Regions from separate parts of the Homo sapiens genome. Here region 2 is linked to region 1. Evidence: promoter capture Hi-C in 16 types of primary human blood cells and fetal thymus (Javierre and others, 2016). All regions are on one chromosome and are shown on one strand. Each heading gives the region's core, a stretch centred on a gene start or on the middle of the fragment in contact. The rest is flanking DNA. Distances are from core to core; before and after follow the strand shown. Region 1 holds the start of PCK2 (phosphoenolpyruvate carboxykinase 2, mitochondrial). Region 2 has its middle 14 kb from the start of NGDN.

The links. The method cuts DNA at HindIII sites, captures the fragments that hold promoters and counts their contacts. A CHiCAGO score of 5 or more calls a contact.
Region 2: a contact is called between a fragment that was not itself captured here and the fragment with the promoter of PCK2 in region 1, in 1 of 17 cell types (naive CD8 T cells). The highest score is 5.6, in naive CD8 T cells.

What each region holds. Positions count from the first base shown.
Region 1 is chr14:24,092,209-24,096,229 of GRCh38, reverse strand. It overlaps PCK2 (phosphoenolpyruvate carboxykinase 2, mitochondrial), which reads right to left and starts at 1,919. Exons shown (of 10, transcript NM_004563.4): 1 at 1,796-1,919. The coding sequence starts at 1,824. All of the region lies in intron 1 of NRL (neural retina leucine zipper), which reads left to right. RefSeq lists enhancers at 1,524-1,593, 1,247-1,896 and a silencer at 1,904-2,153. The HindIII fragment of the contact is 4,962 bases long and covers 1-4,021 here.
Region 2 is chr14:23,481,915-23,485,809 of GRCh38, reverse strand. No RefSeq gene overlaps it. Among named protein-coding and RNA genes, the nearest start is that of NGDN, 14 kb to the right of the region's middle. RefSeq lists enhancers at 2,225-2,981, 2,982-3,739. The HindIII fragment of the contact is 5,436 bases long and covers 1-3,895 here.

The sequences.
Region 1 (4,021 bases), core at 670-3,169:
AGAAATGAGTAGGGGCCTTTGGCCCAAGTGTCAAGACAAGAAGTTGGGCCCAGGTGACAATTTCATATGTCTGGTATTTGAAGCCTCATCCATTTTATTTCCATTTTCAAGTATAGTTTTTTATAAATTAAAATGGCAGCTGTGTTTATTCTTTCCTTCTGGTGTGTATGCTGTAAGACTATGAAAGCCCCAAGCAAAGGTCACAGTCTTTCCAGTGCCAGGTTTCTAGATGAGGGCTCTTGCACAGAGAATAGGTGACTGGATGCTGGGCTTCCAGGCCCTGATCTGCTGCTGCCCACTTGGACCAACAATGGTTGCATAAAATGTTGCCCTCGGGTAAGTATTTCTGAACTCTGCGGAAGGTTGACCACTGGGGAATGAGTGTCACTGGCTGGGGTTCATGGGCTTAATTCTCAGGAGGTCAGCGTCCTGTTGTCTGTCCTCTCATGGCCCTGGGAGACAGAGAAGCAACGTCTGCTCTGATTGGCCTGGACTCAAGGTGGAGTAAACCCGAGAGAGCAAAGACCATGAAGGGGATGTTACTCTCCTCCTCTATCAAGGCCTCGCCCATCAGAAACTGCCCCCACACCCAGGACCACGTGACCCCGTGCTTCCCCTGGCTCTTCTTCCTAGAGGCCACATGCCTAGAGAGCTTTGGTGTTGGTGGGAGGGTGGAACAGCAGCTTGCTGGCAGCTCAGACTCAGAGGGTGTTAGCCTGGGGAAGGAAGAAAGCTCAGAGCATGGATACGGGAGCTTGAGTCTGTCTGGGGTAGAAGCTGGGGTGGTTTCCGCTAAAGCAGGATAGATGATCAGTGTGGCCCCAGGGGCAGGGGAGGAGGGCTACTGGGACCTGGGTCTGTTCCTGCCTCAGAGGGAAGTTCTCCGTGAGCATCAGTTTTCAAGCACACAGTCTTGAGGACAGCCTCTCTCTCCCTGGAGCCTGGCTCACGTTATCTCTTGTGAAGCCCCCACACCCTCTTGCAGCCCTCTAAGTGGGACGTTTCCTTCAGAGACCACCCACAAGGGCTGCCCAAGTGGAACGGGCTGTGCGACAGATGTGGGTCACTTCCGACTCTGGGACAAAAGCTGAGAAGAGAGGCCTCAGAGAATAAATAGGAGACTAAGAGGACAGGCAGACAAACAGGACGAGCCTGGGGGCTCCAGGCCTGGACGGAGGAAGAAGCCAGCTATGTAAGAAACGAAGGCAACTTGGCGCCCTCCTCCCACCTTGCTTGCCTCCCTCCCCTGGGCCCAGGTCCCTCGGGCTGCTCTGGACTTCCCGCCAGGTTCCAGTCCTTCCAGTCCGGGAGAGGCCGGGAATGGATATTTAACCTTCCACCTTCTTTAGGGGGCTCTGAGCTTAGTCTCCCGGGGCTCACGTACCCTTGTCCCCAGGGCCCTGCTGCCTCTCGAAGTACCCTGGGGCGCTGGCTGAGAGCCCGTTAGAGGTCCGAGGGAGGTATCTGGGAAGGAAAGGAGGATATGCGGAGACCTGGCTCAGCAGAGAGGAGCGAGGAGAGAGAGGAAGTTCTGAGAGTGGCAGATAGAGATCGCGCGGTCAGAGGCGAGCGAGGCAGAGAAGGGGAGGTGCAGGCGGAAACGAGGAGCACCGGCCGGCTGCCCTCCCAAGAGACGCGCGGCGCGGGAGGCTGGACCCACAGCAGTCGCCCCTGCCCGCCTCCGCCTAGGATGGGAAACCTGGCGGAGGCTGAGAGCAGGAGAGCGCCACTGGCAGCCCCGAGGGGGCGAGCGCAGCGGAAGGTGCGGGTGGGCCCCGGGCCGGGGGTCACTCACCGCAGGCCAGGGCGGTACAATGCGGCCATGGCACCTGGGCAGGGGCTGCGGGGTGGCCAGGAACCGAGCGGAGCCGGGGAGGTATGGAAGGCGGGGAAGGAGGGAGCGCGGCGAAGCGAGCCACAGCAGAGGCTGGCGGGAGGCGCTTAAAAAGGAGGGGGGCAGGCGCGGGGGCGGAACCTGGTAGGGCTGGCACTAGCTTTCCTCCGCCCCGCTGGCAGGCCAGCTCCCTCGGCCCCGGGGCTCCAGGCTCCAGGTCAGCCCAGCCGCCGCCCCAACCCCTGCCTCCAAACCGCCAAACCCATCTCTCCCATTGGAGGACTGGGTCCACTCTTCGGCCCCCGACTTCGAGGCCCCGCCCCCCATCCGCCACCGCCCTCCCAGCCGCACATGATGTAACTTTGAGGACTCTTGCTCCCGGGAGAGACACTAGGTGGCAAACAAGCTAGGAACGAGGGGCGAGGCCAGGGGCGGGAGACTACAGGGGCCAGACGTCTAGAAGTTAGGGGGTTGGGCATTGCCTTTCCAGTTCCTCCTCCTGGGGACGCGACACCCTGAGTCCTGGGCCTTTCTGTAGTCCAAGTGCCCAATGCTAAGGTCCACTTAGTCCCCAACTCCTAAATCCCCGTTTCTCCTCCTGATCAAGGCTCCTTTCTGCCTTGCCATGAAATGGTGGAGTCTCTCTACCCCTGGGTCTCTTCCTTGGTCCTCTGATCTGGTCATTCTCCTCCCCCGGCACATCCCCTCTTCCCCTGACGGAGTCTTACTCTGTCACCCAGGCTGGAGTGCGTGCAGTGGCGCGATCTCGGCTCACTGCACACTCCGCCTCCCGGGTTCAAGCAATTCTCCTGTCTCAACCTGCAGAGTAGCTGGAATTACAGGCGCCTGCCACCACACTCGGCTGATTTTTTGTATTTTTTGTAAAGACGGGGTTTCTCCATGCTGGCCAAGCTGGTCTCCAACTCCTGACCTCGTGATCCGCCTGCCTTGGCCTCCCAAAGTGCTGGAATTTACAGGCGTGAGCCACCACGCCCGGCCTGGTCATTCTTTCTCTCCACAATCCAATGAGGAAACTCATCTGCCCACCCAACTACCATCATAAAGTCCTCAGGTGATTTCTCAAGCTATACCTCCATTGGGACATCTCTCTCCAACCTGAGACCACTGGATATCACCCACAATGCTATATAGCACCTCAAACTCAGCATATCTATGATGGGTGTCTGCTCAGCATCCACTCGCCTTTTCTGGTAATAGCACCCTGATTTTCTTTTGGGGAACCATCTCCTCAGTCTGTATTGTCATGTGGGTCTGATGTCACCCCTCTTGGGGGTAGGCTTGCAGCTTAGCCAACTTTTGTGTTCCTCACTCTGGCCACAGCAATCAAGGATGTTCAAGGATGGGCATGAGATCCCTCTCTGGGACTTTTTCTAAAACTTTGGAAGTTAGCTCTCTTTCTGCTGAGTTGCTGAGCTGGTAGAATATAAGCCTGGAGCTGCTGAGTGTTAGCTTGGCACTGCAAAGCAGGAACCTGGCTGAGACAGAAGCCAGCCTAGAGGAAGCAGAGCAGGGAGATGGCGAGCAATGGATTCCTGATTTCAGTTACAGGAATTGATGCATTTCTTCTCTTGCTCAAGCTAATTTTAATTGGAGTTCTGCCACTTGCAACAGAAACAGTCTTGATTCTCAGATTTCTTGGAGTTCTATGCTGGAACATAGTGGGATAAGGAGAGCTGGTCTCCAGCCACGGGCTTGCTACTGGTCCCCGTCTCTTCCCCCTCAGGCTCTAGCCTACACTCAACCTCAGGTATATGTATTTGGATCTCTTTCCCCCCAGTTCATAGATCCAAACTCTGTCCACACTTACCCAGCTGCAAACACATACCTCTTGGCCAACCTTTGGGCCTAAAGGTGTGCACACTGGTGGCAGCATGGTTGACCTGAAGGTCATCATCTTCTCCATAATCCTGCACCTGCTCTCATGGTTTCCTACCTCAGCAAATGGCACCATCATCTGGCCAGTTGCCCCAAAGGGAATCAGTCTAGACTATTCTTATCCTGCATAGCTAATCAGATGCCAGGACCTTTGGAATTGTACTTCTCAATTAGCCCTCAAGTCTGCAACTATCCCCATGGCCAGGGCCTTAGTTCAGGGCTTATCTCTCACCTGGCTTCAGGTGATAGCTTCTAAGGCACTTCTTGGACTCCTGCCTCTCCAAACACCAA
Region 2 (3,895 bases), core at 1,395-3,894, 610 kb after region 1:
TGTAAGATTTAGAGTTATCAGCACTAGTGGAAGGGGGTGGTCCATAGAACCTTTTGTTATTTAAGTGATCCTGGGACTGAAGAGTTTGCTGCGGAAGATCAGCACAGAGAGAATGGAGCGTCCAGAGTTCCAGCATCCACCACCAAGTGCCATCCAGCTCCAAGGTATTTAGCAGAAGGGGTATACTAGCCAGCAGTTAAGGTCAAATTAAATCTGGAATGGGAATTCATTCCCTGCCTTGGTACTCTGGAGGCCCCTGTAGTAGGCTAGCCTGTGTAAGGCCTGCGGAAATGCTAATACCATCCCAGCAAGCTAGATTCCTCAACCAGCCAGCCAAGCCCACATGCCCTGGCTGTCTTGCTGCTGATGCTGTCTCAGCATCAGGCCAACCAAGGCCAGCTTTTGACACAAAACCTGGCCACGTTGCTGCCTTCAAGGCTGCCAGTGGCTCTGGGGATGAATTGGAGACATTGGTTTCTAAGGGGTAGTAAAGGAAAAGTCAGACCTGGATGTGAGAGAAAACAAATTCTAATACCAGCTCTGCTAATGACTTATTTGAATAGGCTTAGATAAATCATTTCCCCCATAGGGCCTGTAAGCAAAAGAAAACAAAAATCAAACAATTTTAGCTACAGCAATGTAAGTATCTACAAAGAAAAATAGTTAAAACTCAATTTACTGCTCTCCCAAAGGATGCTAAAGCAGCTAAGTCTCTACCATTCACTGCAACAAATATTTATTGGATCTTGCTTTTTAAAAGAGGGACCTAAACAGAGATCACTGTCTACATTACATGAAACCATGACCCTAACTACAGTCCCCTGAATACAGCAAGAAAGATCTCTAAGAAAGGAAACAGGAAAATCAGCTGAGGAAATGAAGAGGCCACCAGCCTCTGCCTCCACCAACTCATGTATGCACCTTAGGAAGGCAGGAGAGGTAGGCAAGAAGACAGGGCTCCACAGGCACTTCCATGGCCCAGACAGTAAGGTGAGGGGTTGGTGTTCTAGTCCCTGCTTTTCACTGTGGCTCTGGCAAACTCTGCCTCTCCCCATAGTCCAGGAGTCAGTCTTGACTTACACATGCTGAGGAAATGGAAGCCAGCCATTCTAGGACTGCCACTTAAGCTAAGGAAGATCTCCTCCCACCAGGGAATCAAGGAAAGAGGTCCATATTGTGGCCTATTCCTAGTATATACAGAAGTCAGACTCAGCACTACCATCCAGGGAGTAACTGGATGCTACTAATTCATAAAGAATAATCCAATAAGAGAAAAATTAGCCATCCTAGAAATTGGATAACTTTACAATAAAAAACACTGCTGAATTAGCTGGTTGTGGGGTACTGGTCTCACAATGAAAGGTCTCCAAAATAAAGTTAAGAAGCGAGATGAGGCAAGAGCTAACAGTCTAAAGAGTTTGGGCATATTCTGGAAAGGCTAAGCAATACAGGGCACTGTGGGCTGAATGGGGCAACCAGGTAAATTCAGCTGTGATAAAGGAACAACATGGAATGACAAAAAAAGGAGGCAGACTACAAGAGTGAGCCAAGGTCCTGCAGCCAGAATTGTGCTCAGCAGTGACCAGAGAGCCAGGATGTCCATCACATAAGTGTCACAACTGTCCTGGAAAGAACCTTCTGAGGACACAAAAGATCAGTAACAGGACATCTCCTCCAGTCTTCAAAACACAGGATAACGAAAGTAGAGGTATCCTTAGCAATCTAATCCAAAAGTTTCTGGATGAGCCATTATTATCTGAATTCTTGCTATTCCCTAGCTCCCATTTTCCCAGCATGTAGAACCCAAATCTGTAGATTCAGATAACACAGGATCGATCGCTTGCCAAGTGAACTCTCCTTATCCAAATCCAGGAACTGAATAGATGCAGACAGCAAAGGATATCTTCTGTCTCCCATCATGTTTCCCCTGTAGAGCCTCGTCATTCTCCCACCTACTCTTCGGTACTGACCCCTCAGTTCTCCTCACCCTGTTCTCTTCTAAGCCACCCTCATCTACAGCCCCCTTTCATTGGGAGAGTCATCTGTAAGATGTCAGGGGTAGAACAGATAACGAAAAAGGGAGTAGGGAAGAGTGTAGATTTCAGGTAGGGAAGTGAGATGGAGATCCTGCAGACAGAGAAAGAGAGAGACAGAAAGCAAGAGAGCCGGAGCTGGGGGAGGGGAAGAAGATGGCACTGCGGAAAAAAGAGCGCCACAAAATTAATTTGAGGAAGGGAACAGTAGAGGAGACGTTGGTGGAATAACAATCAGGCAGTAGAGGGCTGGGGAAAGGGGGAGGGCGACAGGGTGGGGAGGAATGATGTTGGCCGGGAGGGCCCTGCCTGCAGAGCAACAGCAGCACCACCTATGGGTATGGTGAAGGGCTACAGGCTGCAACAAAAGAGGTTCCCGCCTAGGCATGGGAGTCTGGGGTGCAGGTGGGGAGGAAGAAGCCATGGCTTTTGCCATTCAAATCTCTTGGTTACACAACATGCAGGCTAGAAGAATAAATAGTATATGGCTTTCCTGGGAAGAGAGGGACTTAAGGTAAGGGAGGGAAGACAGAGAACTCCTGGCTTTTTCCATTACAAGGGGGTTTCCCCTTCAGAATTCAGGCAGTAGAAAAGAGAAGAATATGAAGAGGGAGGAACACCAGGTACTGAAAGGAATGTGAGCACCTGCTTATTTCATTACCTGGAGAAAGGATTTTTATCTTTATTTCCAAGTGATTTCCTCTCCCCACTGGATATAAGAGAATACAGCTGCCTCCCTGGGGCCATGAATGCCCCTCACTCAGCTGCTTCCTCCCAGCACTGCCTCAAAACTCCCAACCACCATTAGAAACCCCCAGGGAGCCACCAAGGTCTAAGAAGGAAAGAAGGGAAGGGTTCCCCCCACCAAACAGACCAAGTGGGGGAGGACAGGGTGGAATGAAAGAGAGAATGCAAAAGCTCTGCAGAGGGAGGGGAGAGAGAAATGTGATCAGTAGTATTTGTTGTGCTTCCAGGGAGGAAGGATCTGTCACATTTTTAATAATAATAAATACATGAAGACAGATTTGCCAGCACTGCTCTGGCTTCTTGGGAAGTGTGGGGGAGGGGAAGTAATGCAGCTGCAGCACACACCAATATCTCCCCCTCCCCTCCCCCATTAGATAGGCTCAGTATTGCAGCAGCCTCCCCCTCCCCCTCTAACCGCAGTCCTCCCCTTCACAGCCCACCCTTTCCACGGTCCCGTCACACAGTTCTGCCCCTCCTTCCCCTACTTGTATCTCTACTCACTCCAACCCCACTCTGTCCTTTCAGTGCTGGTCCTCATTTAACACATGCTTACTCTAGCTGGAAGAAACCTTAGCACCTACATCTTAGATGAATGAATCTGTTCCCCCAATCCTGAGGCTCTGCTGTTTCCAATCAGTGCCCTTCACTAGCTGACAGCAATCTTCCCCTACACCCCACACAACACTCCCACAGATGTAATCCAGCACATTTCAGCATTTCCTGGATTCCACCAAAAAGGATTGCTTTTCTCCCCGTTTTAATCTCAATGTGACCTCCTTTCTCACATCCTTCCTTAAATATAATGGCCATCAAATGTGTTTGTGTTTAGGGGGTGTCAGGGCCTCAGGACTCAGTGACTACTGCCACCTATTGACCCAAGTTTGTTCACGATAGACCTTTAATACACTTCTTACACAGCGACGCTCTGTCATCTCAAAAGCATCAATAGCTTAAACATGCAAAGGCATGGCTCTGGGGGCTTCTCTGAGACCCTCTGAACAATGAGATCAAAGAAACACAAAAGCAAGACTGGGCAGAGAGCCAGAGCATTGATGCCTTTCCTCATGCAGAGGCAGAAAACGAGGCCCAAGGAATGAAAAAGCAACTTTAAGTCC